4 separate regions of the Homo sapiens genome follow, and all the other regions are linked to region 3. Evidence: promoter capture Hi-C in 16 types of primary human blood cells and fetal thymus (Javierre and others, 2016). All regions are on one chromosome and are shown on one strand. The core of a region is centred on a gene start or on the middle of the fragment in contact, and the rest is flanking DNA. Distances in the headings are between cores, read along the strand shown. Region 1 overlaps GZF1 (GDNF inducible zinc finger protein 1). Region 2 overlaps LOC105372568 (a long non-coding RNA gene). Region 3 holds the start of CD93 (CD93 molecule). Region 4 has its middle 100 kb from the start of LINC01747.

Evidence for each region. The method cuts DNA at HindIII sites, captures the fragments that hold promoters and counts their contacts. A CHiCAGO score of 5 or more calls a contact.
Region 1: a contact is called between a fragment that was not itself captured here and the fragment with the promoter of CD93 in region 3, in 2 of 17 cell types (neutrophils and monocytes). The highest score is 6.9, in neutrophils.
Region 2: a contact is called between a fragment that was not itself captured here and the fragment with the promoter of CD93 in region 3, in 1 of 17 cell types (neutrophils). The highest score is 7.0, in neutrophils.
Region 4: a fragment that was not itself captured here is called in contact with the fragment with the promoter of CD93 in region 3 in 1 of 17 cell types (endothelial precursors); the score reaches 5.9 in endothelial precursors.

What each region holds. Positions count from the first base shown.
Region 1 is chr20:23,367,817-23,371,282 of GRCh38, forward strand. GZF1 (GDNF inducible zinc finger protein 1) reads left to right here. Exons shown (of 6, transcript NM_022482.5): 4 at 946-1,113; 5 at 1,768-1,925; 6 at 2,275-3,466. The coding sequence ends at 2,625. Among named protein-coding and RNA genes, the nearest start is that of GZF1, 7.4 kb to the left of the region's middle. The HindIII fragment of the contact is 1,181 bases long and covers 1,206-2,386 here.
Region 2 is chr20:22,822,406-22,825,768 of GRCh38, forward strand. It overlaps LOC105372568 (a long non-coding RNA gene), which reads left to right. Exons shown (of 3, transcript XR_937351.2): 2 at 1,037-1,284; 3 at 1,780-1,977. Among named protein-coding and RNA genes, the nearest start is that of LINC01747, 140 kb to the left of the region's middle. The HindIII fragment of the contact is 3,374 bases long and covers 1-3,156 here.
Region 3 is chr20:23,084,885-23,087,935 of GRCh38, forward strand. It overlaps CD93 (CD93 molecule), which reads right to left and starts at 1,440. Exons shown (of 2, transcript NM_012072.4): 1 at 1-1,440. The coding sequence starts at 1,308. RefSeq lists an enhancer at 1,424-1,603. The HindIII fragment of the contact is 6,182 bases long and covers 1-3,051 here.
Region 4 is chr20:22,788,670-22,791,780 of GRCh38, forward strand. No RefSeq gene overlaps it. Among named protein-coding and RNA genes, the nearest start is that of LINC01747, 100 kb to the left of the region's middle. The HindIII fragment of the contact is 502 bases long and covers 1,469-1,970 here.

The sequences.
Region 1 (3,466 bases), core at 546-3,045, 280 kb after region 3:
TGTGGAAGATACAGAAGCATACAGCACTGAAGTGTTCCAATTCTTCTCAGTTTCTTCTTTGCTTGCATTTTTTATTCTTACCTGTAAACACTGGCTTACAAGCCTCAAGTTCAAATGCATGTGAGACAGAGATGACATGTCTCTGACTCATTAGACACCACATCTGTGTGATTAGACACCAGTTCTGCTCATTCTGAAGTCATAATTCATGTCATTGAATGAAAATCTCATTTAATGTCATGAAATTAGCATTTAATGACATGCATTATGACTACAGAATGAGTAGAATTGTTTAAAGAAAGCTTGGGATTGGGGACAAGGTCAGGTTATAATGAAGGATTAAGTTAGAATTGGTCCTTTGATAATATTAACATGGTAAGATTTTATTAAAGTCACTATTTTTATTTTGATGTCTGTGAAATCGGGCACAGCTAATAATTTGGTAAGTCTGATTTGTGGGATTAAACTACAAAAAGTGAGATATTTAAAACTCTTGTCCTACAATTCAATCAAGTTGATTGGAGTTGCTACTCTAGAATAGTGATATATATCCATTGTCAACTTCCCCTTTATTCTGATAAAGATCCATAGAAGTGTTCCTTTGAAAATAATCCAGCAGTTCCTCCAAACAGAAGTTGTGAAATTATTTTCTTGTTTGGAATGAGTAAATTTCTAAAATGTGAGCCAGCTGAACAAACAATACCTCTTTGATTCTAGTCAAATGGAATTTTTCTTGCAATTTCCAAGGATATTTTACACCAACTTTCAGTAAGTAGCAAGCATCTTACATGAATATATATTTTATGATAGTTTTTACTGGAAAATGTAACATGCTGCCTACCAAGGCACTTTTGAGTTCACGTGGGTTTTAACAGTGGAGACCTACTGTTCCATGTGTTTTTAATGCCTGTATTGTTTATGACTTTATTTCATTTTCTCATGTAGGTGAAAGACCTTTTATGTGTGAAACATGTGGCAAGAGTTTTGCTTCTAAGGAGTACTTAAAACACCACAATAGAATCCATACTGGATCCAAACCCTTTAAATGTGAAGTATGTTTCAGGACTTTTGCCCAGCGGAATTCACTGTACCAGCATATTAAAGTCCACACAGGTATGGTTGGAATGTCCCAGGGAAGGGAGTTTAGTTTGGCCAAAAAAAAAATTCTAAAGCTTGTAGATTTACCAGTAAATTACTTGGAACTAAGCTTTTGAAGAAAACTGGCCAAACTTTGTATGTCATAATAGCATTTCTTTAGAGATTGTTTCTAACTCTGAGAAACTGAAAAGTGGGAGCACTTATGTGTGTAAACGGGAGAAGACTAAGTCCCTTTGCTACATGGAGTTTTTACTGAAAAGGACAGACAGCTTAGTCATGGTGTGAATGTAGGAAGTGGATGTGGATGTGTGGACATAGGGATAATGATCTGTACATGTTAGTAAATGCACATGCACACATGCATATTCAGTTGTTAGGGGTCTTGTAATTTTATACTCCATTACCATGGAAAACAGGTGTCATTCCTATAGTTATAATACCTGCTGCAGGCACATGTCCTGGCCCCTTTTTGGTGTAGGCCATAAATTCTTGGTATTATAGAGATAGTGGATTTGTAGCCCTTAAGTTGTTCCCAACATAACCTTCCTTATGTTGGATGCTGAGGCTTCCCAGTGGTTTGCAACAGCATCATTCACTCAAGTGTGTATTCAGAATTAAGCACAGTAGGCCAAAGGGACCCACCAGCAGTCTCCTCTCTCCCTGCCTCAGGGGAGCGTCCCTACTGCTGTGACCAGTGCGGCAAGCAGTTCACCCAGCTCAACGCCCTCCAGCGCCACCGCCGCATCCACACAGGGGAGAGGCCATTCATGTGCAATGCGTGCGGACGGACATTCACCGACAAGTCCACTCTTCGGCGGCACACCTCAGTAAGCAGTGGGTTGGCTTATTTGAGAAACAAGCTGCTGCCCTTAGATGCACGGAAAGAGAAATACCTACCACCATTCTCCAAGGTGGTTAGAGGTCGAGACAACAGGTACTTTCTCCTTGGGTTGTCTCTGCAGTGGAACGCTCACGGAATGAATGAAGTGGAACACCAAGCCCCAAGGCCCAGGGAAAGCACCATCCACGATGACTACTCTGTAACAGTGAGGGTGGTGGCAGGCGGGTACTTATTAGTGAAAGTTGAAAATTGAAGTTGTAGAGGGACTATTGTTTTAAAAGATGCACTTGTCCAGAGACACATTCAGTGACCTTTGTTTTGTGTTTAACTTATAGATACACGATAAGAATACTCCATGGAAGTCTTTCCTTGTCATTGTAGATGGCTCGCCCAAGAACGATGACGGACACAAGACTGAACAGCCTGACGAAGAGTATGTGTCATCCAAGCTTTCGGATAAATTGCTGTCTTTTGCAGAAAATGGCCATTTCCACAACCTGGCTGCAGTCCAAGACACTGTACCTACCATGCAGGAGAACAGTTCTGCTGACACAGCCTGCAAGGCAGATGACTCCGTGGTGTCCCAGGACACCCTCCTGGCCACCACCATCAGTGAGCTTAGCGAGCTGACCCCACAGACAGACTCGATGCCCACACAGCTTCACTCTTTGAGCAACATGGAATAAGAGCTTCAAGCAGTTCCCATCCTGTTAGTCTGCGTGTGTGGTAGCTGAACTCAAGATGATGTGGGGCTAAGAAAAATAATTGTCCATGTGCAAAGATGTGGGCAAGAATGGCCTCTGCAGATTTTCCTGAACTTCTGCTAACTTGCACGGCTTTATCACAGCATTTTTAAAGCTTTCCCTCAAAAATCCTGATCTGCATGATCTCAGCTACTTTATTGACAAAAAGGCAGTGAACATAACCTCACTTAATTCTGGTGTAGGGTGTATGTGCTAATCGTTCTAATTCTTGATTACCTAGTTTATAGATAACTGCTGGTCTTAATTGCAGAGTACAGAGAACTGAACCAGCTCCTGATATTGTAGTTAGCAGTCTTCCTGGCTTCTCACTCTGCCTTATATTTCCATGTGGGTTTACTTCTCTCATAACTACTTTCAAGGTATTTTTCTTCCAAGCTGAAATAAAACTGGGGCCACATATTTTCAGTCATTTCTTCCCTGTTGAATTGAAGCAAATCAGATTTTCTGTGGGGACCCTCAAATGCAACTGAAGAAATAGATTGTTGCATTCATTCCTCCCCACCCCCCATTTGTAGGCAGTAAACAAAGTATGACTGACAGATTGAACACCTGCAAAACTGCTAGCGTAATCTCAGCACATACGCAGCTAGGAAGTTTGTCATAAAATCAACTTAGAAATGAGATGAGGCTGTTCAGTTTGTCTTAAAAAAATCAGATTAGGTAAAAGCTGTCCTACCAAAGAGTCTAGCAAAACAATATAGTATTTTTTTGCAGAGGCATGAAAAATTAAGACGCTTTAGAGTACTTGAAAGTTGTGTAGTCA
Region 2 (3,363 bases), core at 220-2,719, 260 kb before region 3:
CCTGGGCCCAGTGAGGAAGGGAGGGGCTCCACTAGCAGTCTCACAATGACATGGGGCAGGGGTGAGGAAGGGGGAGAAGGGAGCTATTCTTTTATGCAAGTAGGTGGCATGTGGGCAGCCAGCAGAAACACAGGCAGGTGGGCTAGGGGAGACCAGGACAACGGGGGCATATATCAAGGTGTCCTAATCGAAGGGGACATGAGGTTGGGGGCCATAGGCCAGGGCTATGCCAGGTCCTCTCAGAGACCCTGACTAGAGCAGGCCCAGGACCAGGCAGGTAAAATTCAAAGGGATGAAAAAAAAAATGTGGGTCTCTGTATCCAGAGCTGGTCTCAGGTCAAGAAGAGGGCAAGGCCACCAGCCGCCCAGACTTACAGAACAGTTACAGGAAGAACACAGAGAGTTCCCAGATACCTTTCACTTGGAGACCCCAAATGTGAGCATTTTTACTCTCTGCTCTCTCTCTCTTTCCTCCCCTTTACGCCTAAAGACTTCAGTGTGTGTAAAAACAAGAACATTCTCTCACTTAACTACAAAAATTATCAAAATCAGAAAATTAAGGCCAATACAAACCTATTATCTAATCTACAGACCTTATTCAGATTTCACTGACTGCACCAGTAAAGTCCCTGGTGGAGGCGAAAGAAGCCGCAAGGTCATGTTGCACTTTGCTGACCTCTCCCTGGCCTCCCTTCACCTGGAGAACCCCTACCTTCCTTTATATTCCATGGCCCGGACATTTGACCACTCCAGGTTAGGTTCGTAGCGCGACCCTCAGTTTGGGCGGGCTGTTTTTAAATGTGCATCACAGGCAAATCCTCACTCCCTTTGCCAAAAGAAGCTGCCCTATTAAGCATGTGTCTTATTTAAATCTCAAGATGCTAGTTCTGTTTTGATAGATCAATAGGAACCACATTTGTTGGCAGGCCTGCTGTTCTGCGATTCATGTTTGTTAAAGCAACAGCAGCCTTTTCTCCCCTTTCTCTCTCTACTCAGAGAAGTGTTCTCTTTTTCTTGCCTTTGTCCCTCCATTCAGGCTGCTTGGGTGTGAAGACCCATGTCATCAGCAAAAGTGGGATCCCAGAGCCTACCTGCCATTCCCAGCAACAAGGATCATTCTGAATGATAATTAAGAATGTATTTTCCAACATGGAAGAATATCAGGCCTTCAGTAAGCGTGACTTGACAGCCCCCAGGGCGGCCCAGGTCTGAGAGCTGACAGTCATCAGAACCCCAGCACCACAGGGAGCTAAGATCACAGAGAAACCCTCAGAGCCGTGCATCGTAAGTAACGTGACCTCTGAAGCAATCAAGGAGTTGGTGCAAATCTGGTTTGCATTGCTGTGAGGGGGCTGGAGAATAAGTCAATGGGTAAAAATATTAGTCTGAATCACCAGCCCTTTTTACATAGGCCTTAGATTTGAGGTCAGCTTGAGCCTAAAATGTAAGCTCATTGGGCTTCATCCCTCGAGCCCTTCCTCTTCCTCCCTGGCTCATCCACCTCCTCAGTTCAAATCCATGAAACACAATTCAGTTCCAGCAATATGTGTTGAAGACACTTCGGTGCTGGGCTGGGCCAGGTGGTGCCTGCCTACGGCACAGCAATACCTCCAGCCTCAAAGCCACTGCACCACATGCATCTCTTCTCCTGTAGCTGCCCAATGCATTTATGTGTAGGTCCTTTTCCCCCAGGCTTCTGCTTCCTGATAAAGGAGAGGAAGAGGCCAGTCGAGTTGTATTCTGGAAATACTTTGCCTTTGTTCTTCTCCTTCCTGGTAGCTTCTTGAATCAATCCCTTCGCTTTCTTCCACCAAGCCAGAAAGCAGCCTCAGACTCTGAGCAGCCACTTCCAGTCCCTTGGGGCAGACACCCACGCAGAAGCCTGCTTGCATTTCTGTCCTGGGAGTGGAGAGAAGAGAGCCCTGTGGCTGTGTAGCCTGGCAAGGCTTTGTGGAAGAGGGGGCCCAACTTCACCTTAAAGAATGGGTGAGTTTGAGGGGCTCTCACAGAAATGGGAGGGGACTGGTATGGGTGACCTTGATTTGGGTCCACACAGACATCTCTTGGAGCCAACTATATGCTTTGAGCCAACTATAATGCTTCTTTTTTCTCTTCCTCCTTTAAGACACCTGGGTATACAGTGATTACAGGTTTAGTGGTAGGAGACTAAATTCTTTGCAACCTGGATTTCTATGTTCAACCTTGCAGCAGAATCTTTGCAGGTCAGAAAGAAAGGAAATAGCGGATGCTGCCTGGCGCTGTCCACATCCCTCAAATTCTCAGAGGTAACCTGAGACATCCCTGTACATGCCAAAGGTGTTCTCTGGCCTCCACGTGGATGGGCCACAAGTGACTGGGGACCTACCCCCACCTCCTGTAACAGTGCTCAAACAATGAGGATGGGTGAGACCCTGACTTCCTCACCCCTCCTTTTGGTGGGACAACTCTAAGTCATGGCATCTGCACAGCCACTCTGTAGCCTCAGGTGACCATGGAAGTAGCAGCTCATCCACCCCATTTTATTTATTTATTTTTATTTTTATTTTTTTTAAATTTTAGATTCAGGGAGTACACGTCCTTGTTTGTTACATGGGTATTACAGGTGTAATGGTGGAGGTTTGGTTTCTAGTGTATCCATTAACCAAATATTGAACATTGTACCCAAAAGGTAATTTTTCAACCCCCACTTCCTTCCCAGCCTCTCCACTTTTGGAGTCCTCATAGTTTTATCTCTCCATTTCTATGTCCATGTGTACCCATTCTTTAGCTCCCATTTATAAGTAAGAATATGCGATATTCTGCTTCTGAATTAGTTCACTTAGTGAGCAAAGCTGGATGGCCTCCAGCTGCATCCATGTTGCTACACAGGACATGATTCAATTCTTTGTTATGGCTGCATAGCATTGCGTATTCTATATGTACAACATTTTCTTTGTCCAGTTAACTGTTCATCGACCCTATTTTGTTAGCATTCCTCCCTTCTCTGTCTCCTTCCTCCACTCCCTCAGGGTGCTCCTGGGTCACCTTTCAAGTATATTCCCTGCCCCCAGTGCTAGCCTCAGGCTTCACTCTTTGGGAACACACTAAGACCACAGTGCATTTGACTATGAGTGAGGATGATCTTCCTACATTTTCTATGTGGCAAAGGCAAATGGAAGCTTGAGGACAAAGGCAGATCTCTGAGTTAAAAGGACACCTACAAGTCCTTCTCTGTGAGCTCATCTTAGGGCAGAGCAGACTCAGAGATGGGGAAGAGCCTCCATTTACATCCTGGCTGCTCCCATTCCATCACTTCCATCACTCTGGAATCTGTAGGGAAGCAGGCCAGTCCTCTGCCCTGAGGCTGAGGCAGGGGCGGTCCGG
Region 3 (3,051 bases), core at 190-2,689:
GCCCCCCGGGCCCACACACTCATCCACGTCCTGGCACTGAGTCCCGTCCTCCCCGGCCAGGACGTAGCCCTCCTCACAGGAGCAGTGAAATGAGCCATCTGTGTTGGTGCAGCCCTGGGCGCAAGGCGAGCGACCCAGAGCACACTCATCCACATCCTGACAGGCCCCCTCTCCAGGACCGCCCGGCTCATAGCCAACCCAGCATTCGCAGCGGAAGCCCCCAGGGGTGTTGACACACTCCTGGGCACAGGGGGAGTCCTGGCATTCATCCACGTCCACACAGTCCAGCTGACTCGAGTCCAGCTGGTACCCTTGGGGGCAGCGGCACGTGTAGTTTTTCCCATGGGGTCCCAGGACGCACGTGGCCCCCCCACGACATGGGCTGGAGCTGCAAGGGTTTCGAGAGGCACAGGTCACCAGGTCATCCAGCAGCCGGAATCCTGGTCGGCAGCCGCAGAGGAAGGAGCCATCCCCCCCTTCAAAGCAGTCCTGGTGGCAGCCCCCATTGTTGAAGTTGCAGCCATACTTGGGGCTGACACAGAGGGGGCCCGAGCTGCCCCAGTCGAACACATCGGGGGCCTTCTCCTTGCACAGGAAATAATGACTCTGAGTCTCGTCCTTGTCACCTTCCCCACAGGCTACATTGGCCGCAGAGGCAAAGGGCACAGCCTCCAAGGAGGAACTGGTGGTCTGGAAGGGGGTGGTGTAGGTCACCTGACCTGGGCCCCCCAGGGCCAGAGGCCGGCACATGCCTTTGAAGCTGAACTTGCACACGAAGCCCTCAATGTTACTTCCGGGGGAGCCTGGGCTCCCACAGGGGCCCTCAGACCACTTGGGGAGGCGGCTGGGAAGGAGCGGCTGGGACAGGTCCAGCAGCAGAGACACACAGCGCTTGGAGATGCACGAGTTCCGGAGCTCCTTGTGCCAGTTAGAGTAAGGCGTGTCCTCCCCCCCGCCCACCCAGCTGAAGCCCTTCAGCGGCAGACTAGGGTCCAGGCACTTGCCCTTCTCTCGCTGGAGCCCAATCCAGAACTTGCTCATCCTCGCCGTCAGGGCTGCCTCCCGCCTCAGGAGCTGGGCCAGTACTCGCTGGACGTGCTGGGCCTCCTCCTTGCTCTTCACAGTGGCCAGGTTGCCCCCGTTCTGGTTGCAGTGGTTCTGGGCCTCGGCAGCGCTCAGCTTGCCCGAGTGGGCCGTGTAGCAGGCGGTCCCCACGCAGACCACCGCCTCCGTGTCAGCTCCCGTCCCCGCCCCGGGCTGGGTCAGGAGCAGCAGCAGCAGCAGCAGCAGGCCCATGGAGGTGGCCATCCCGGTCTCTGTGTGGCCCTCTGCGGGAGGCGAGAAGCCCAGCGGCGACAGGAGCTTCTATCTCGGCTCCCAGCTGGGCCCCAAGGGGAGCTGAGGGGTGAGCTGCAGCCACTCCGGCGCAGAGAAGGACACAAAGGCTGAGGGCTTTCCACGTCCCCCTGACCCAAGGCGCATCCTGTACTGTTGTACTTCTTATTTCTCACCGGATGTTGGGGCTTCCTGCAATGAATAGTTCTCTGACTCCTGCTGCCTTCATCACGGTGCTGTTGTTCATAAAAGGAGTCAGGCAGCTCTGCCGGGTCCCTGGCTCAGCACTGTGGAAACAGCGACGGGGGGAAGACGTTACAGCCCCGAGATACTGCCGGCTTGATTTTGGCTCCATTCTCTTTCTCATGGCATGAGGAGCCTCGGAGGCATGCCATGGAGTGAGCAGGGGCTTTGGGGGCTAGGAACTCGAGGAAGCTCCCTTAGTAACCCATAATAAAATTCCACTTTGGTTTGCAAACCACCAAAAGAGAAAAAAAAAATTCTGAGACTTAAGACACAAGGCCATGGATGGTTATAATTTTCAGCCTTTTTTAGAAGCAAACTGGACTTTCCTTTTGCCTAGCTCATGTTCTCTGTTGACTTTGGGAGCCTTTTTTCTTTTATCCTCCCATCGTGAACCTTAAATAGACAGGCATTTTTTAAATAGGATACGGGTCGTGGGAATGTCTGGGTTTTCAACATAATGCCAAGCTCCTCGATAATGTTAATCCAAATTGGGTGAAATTTGGCAGTTCTGGGGGTTTCATAGTGGAAATATTGCATTGTGAGGTGTCAGGGTCACAAAAAGCATCAGAAAGAAAATGAAAATGTGTCCGGCCTCGTGGCGCAGGGCTTGCAGGCTCACTTCCCCCGGCTCAGGATTCCTAGCAAGGGCCGGAAATCTGGGCAGGGAGCGGGAATCGAAGCCCGGGCAGGCCCTCCCGCGACACCGCGACTCGGCAAAAGCCAGGGACTCACAGTGTGCTTTTCCTGCAGCCACAGACCTTTGCTCATTGGTTGGGATCCCCCAGGAGGGGACCCTGAGACAGGATTTGGGGAGACTAGTTTATGTGGGAGGGGAAGTGAAACAGACAAGGAGGAAGCCAACCCATGATGACTTGCTGAGAAGGTGACCCTGGGCTGCTGGAGCCAGTGCCAGGAAACTCTGGGGGCCTGAGGGGACCACACCTCAGCACCATCTCAGCTGAGGGAGAGGCTCCACTGCTCTCCAAGTCCCCTGTCATTGGTAGCAGGCTGTATCTCTCACTTTGAGAGACTGACTATAAATTCTAGCCCTGCCCAGTGACCAGGGGTCTCTCTCACATAAAACTTGTTTCTATGGACAGACACCCTTGTGGCTCTCGTCTGACCCATGTCCAGTTTATTCCTATCAAGACAGCCACTTCCTAAGAGATCCCTGATGGGAGGAGAGTTGGGTTGGGGTGTGGGTCAGGGGAGATGCAGGAGGCAGCACAAGAAGACACAGGAAGCAACACAAGCACCGTGTCACTTACAGATCCCAGGGAGAGGGCAGTGCACCCCACGGGGCCAGCAAAAAGTGGGGAGCTGTCTGGGTCACAAACACTCACCTGGAGGGGGGTGAAGGGAGAGAGAGAGACCTGGGTCCTAAGCCTTTATTGGGGTCCAGGACGTTTCCCAAGCAGGTTTCCCAAGGGGACTTCTCACTGGTGGGTTTAGAGCAAACAGACACGGGCT
Region 4 (3,111 bases), core at 470-2,969, 300 kb before region 3:
TCTAAAAACTATTTAAAAATATCAAGTCTAGCTTCTCCTATCAATTTTTCTTGTGTCTATGGTCTAATAATAGGTGAATAAGTAGATTGCAATACATTGCTATGGAATACTGGGCTTCTAACAAAAATAATCTTATAGGAGAACATTTATTGACAAGGGAATTATCATGGTAAATTTATAAAGAAAAACAAGCTACAAAACAATGTAATAGTGTGGCAACATTTTAGTAATGTTCTATATTTGCATAAACAGTCATGTGCCACATAGTGACATTTGATTGACAGATTGCATATATGATGTTGTTCCTGGAAAATTGTAATGAAGTTGAGAGATTACTATTGCCTACTGCTTTGTGTTACAGTTGCCTACAGTATTCAGTACAGTAACAGGCTATACAGGTTTGCAGCCTAAGAGCATGGGTCATAACATATGGCGTAGATATGTGGTAGGCTATGCTATCTAAGTTTGTATAAGTATATGGTATGATATTTTCAAAAGGAGAAACTTACCAAACAACCCATTTCTCAGAATGTATTTCTATAGATTAGTGAGGTATGCCTGAATATGAAAGTCATACATTGACGTGTTAACCCAAGTCTTCTTGGAGCAATGAGATTATAAGAGATTTTTGTTTTTGTTTTTTTAGTCTGAGCTATTCTATTTCTCAAGTTTAATGCATTCAACATAAATTAGAAAAGCATTGGTAAAACAACACATGCCAAATGACATGGCTTTTTTTGTGAATTTCAAAGTTCCACATTAACAGTTTTGGCAGGTGGCCTCTGGTGGAACTAGTTCCCCGCTCCTGGTCTAACAGCCTCAATGGAAGGGACAAACTCACAATCAGAACTTTCCCTACCCCTATCCTTTGCTCTTTTGCATATTTCTCAGTGATGCAGAACTCTCTTCTCTCCAAGTTCGCTGCTGCACTGACACATGCCTCACGTCCACTGACCGAGAGCCGAAGGAAACACAGCAGCACCATTTCCAGGTGGACTTTTCCCTTCCCTGGCAGAAGAATTCAGTCACACCATGGATTTCCAGGGCTACTTGAATTACCCAGATTGGTATTTATTTGCTTAGGGTTTATATCTCTGGTCTCCACATGTCCTTCCCAGTAGGAAACTGCTCAGATAATCACACAGCTGTGAAGACTTCTCCCCAAAGGTCATAAGCTTTGGTCCCACCATCTGTGGGGAAACATGTGTTTCTCGTACTCTGAAAGGACTGTTCTTGGCTTTAAATTCCAGTACTTAGCACTTGTAAAATTGAGATAAAGCACATTGGCAGCTTTGGGACTTCTGTGAGCCAACCACTAAGAATGGACTTTGGGAGGCTACACCGCTACATCCATTCTAGAGTTGCATTTGGTATTTCCTCTAAAAGGGCTTCACCACTCACCTGGGGGCTCTGAGGCATTTGAGCACTTCAGCTCAGTTTTTCAGCCCTGAGGTGAGACAGGAAAGCAAGCTTGCCCAAAGGATACAGGGAAGTCTGAGACCAGGCCCAGATTCAGAACCACAGGCTGAGGAGCTTGTTACTTGGGCTGAGCCGTCCTGCTCCCATAGCTGGGTGCACCCAAAAACTTCAAATGTGTGCCTCAAAATGAAGGCAGCATGCCAATGATTGGCAGTGCATCCAATTCACTCTTCAATTCCACATTTGGACTCAGTGCTTAGGGGATGGGGCTTTAAAGTGTATGTTTTTGGGAATATTATATACATGCAATAAAATGCCCTATTCTTTGGTGTTTGACTTGATGAGTTTTGTCAGTTTTATATACCTGTGTATAATCACCACTCTGTATGAGACACAGAACATTATATCATCCAAGACGGTTTCCTGTGCCTCTGCCCAGTCAAGCATCCACTGTCCCAACCCAAGGCAACCATGGTCTGACTTCAAGCACCAAAAGATTATGTTTTTCATTTCTACAACTTCATGTGAATGGATTCATACAGTATGTGCTAAGCTTCTTTCACTCAATGTGTCTCTAATATTTATGTATGTTGTATGCATCAGTAGTTATTTTTTATGGTTGAGTAGGAGTTCATGAGTATATTCACTTGAGAGATGTTTGGATGGCTTGTCCTTTGAGTTGGTTACAAACAAGTCTACCATGAGAATTTTGGTGCAAGAGTTCTTGCAGATATATGCTTTTGTTTCTCTTGGGTAAATGTCTAATAGTGGAATTACTGGGTTGATGTGGACTCAACTGTAGAAGAAACCAAATGAGTTGCTTTTGAAAATTATCATTTCTGGTAGACTCATAGCCTCTCATAGCTGAACGAAAATTTTGCTCCTTGGCCATTTGGTCCAACCTCGTCATTTAAGATAAGGACAACTGAGATGCCAAGGAGTCATCACTCTTTCATGGCTGTAGATCTAATAAGTAGCTGAGGAAGAGCTGGACCCAGCCTTTCTGACCTCATACTTCCTTACCAAGGAGCATTAGAAAACCCTACTTATTCCTGCTTGTGAGGTAAGAGTTATTTCTAAATGCAAATATTTGTTTTCTTGCTTTTATTCACATAGTGAAGAAAATTGAATCCATGGTGACCTTATTGAATCCACACAGAACCTTATTATACATTGATTCATAAGGTGTTATTGTATCATAGCTATAGACAGCTGTGGAGATTAGGGTAAGTCTACACTGTCTTGAGAACATGTCTTAGAATTTAAGTTTTCTCCAAATACGTAGTATTGATTCGGCTTTACCTTTTGCTAAGAAAATGAATGTTGGTAACTTCTCACATAGTAATAATAATTCCATTTCCAAGAACATCTCCTAAGAACATAAATATAGATGTGCAGGAGATATATGCGAGGGTCAGAAATGCTGAGGAGCAGGGCATGACTCACTGCACTAGCTCATGCCGACAGGCCAAGAAGGTGACAACAGGGCCCTGGCTGTGGATTTAGTAGCATGGATGTCATCAGCAAAAGACTAATTTGTCTCCAGTGTCTAAAACAGTGCCTGGAGCTCCAGAAGTAGGACATGATTGATTGAGTGGCAGGGGCATCTCAAGTTGACTCGAATATCCTTTGTTTGAGCATACTCAAGAGAAAATGGGAAGATAAAGTGAGATTTCTTTTAAAGGACAGCAA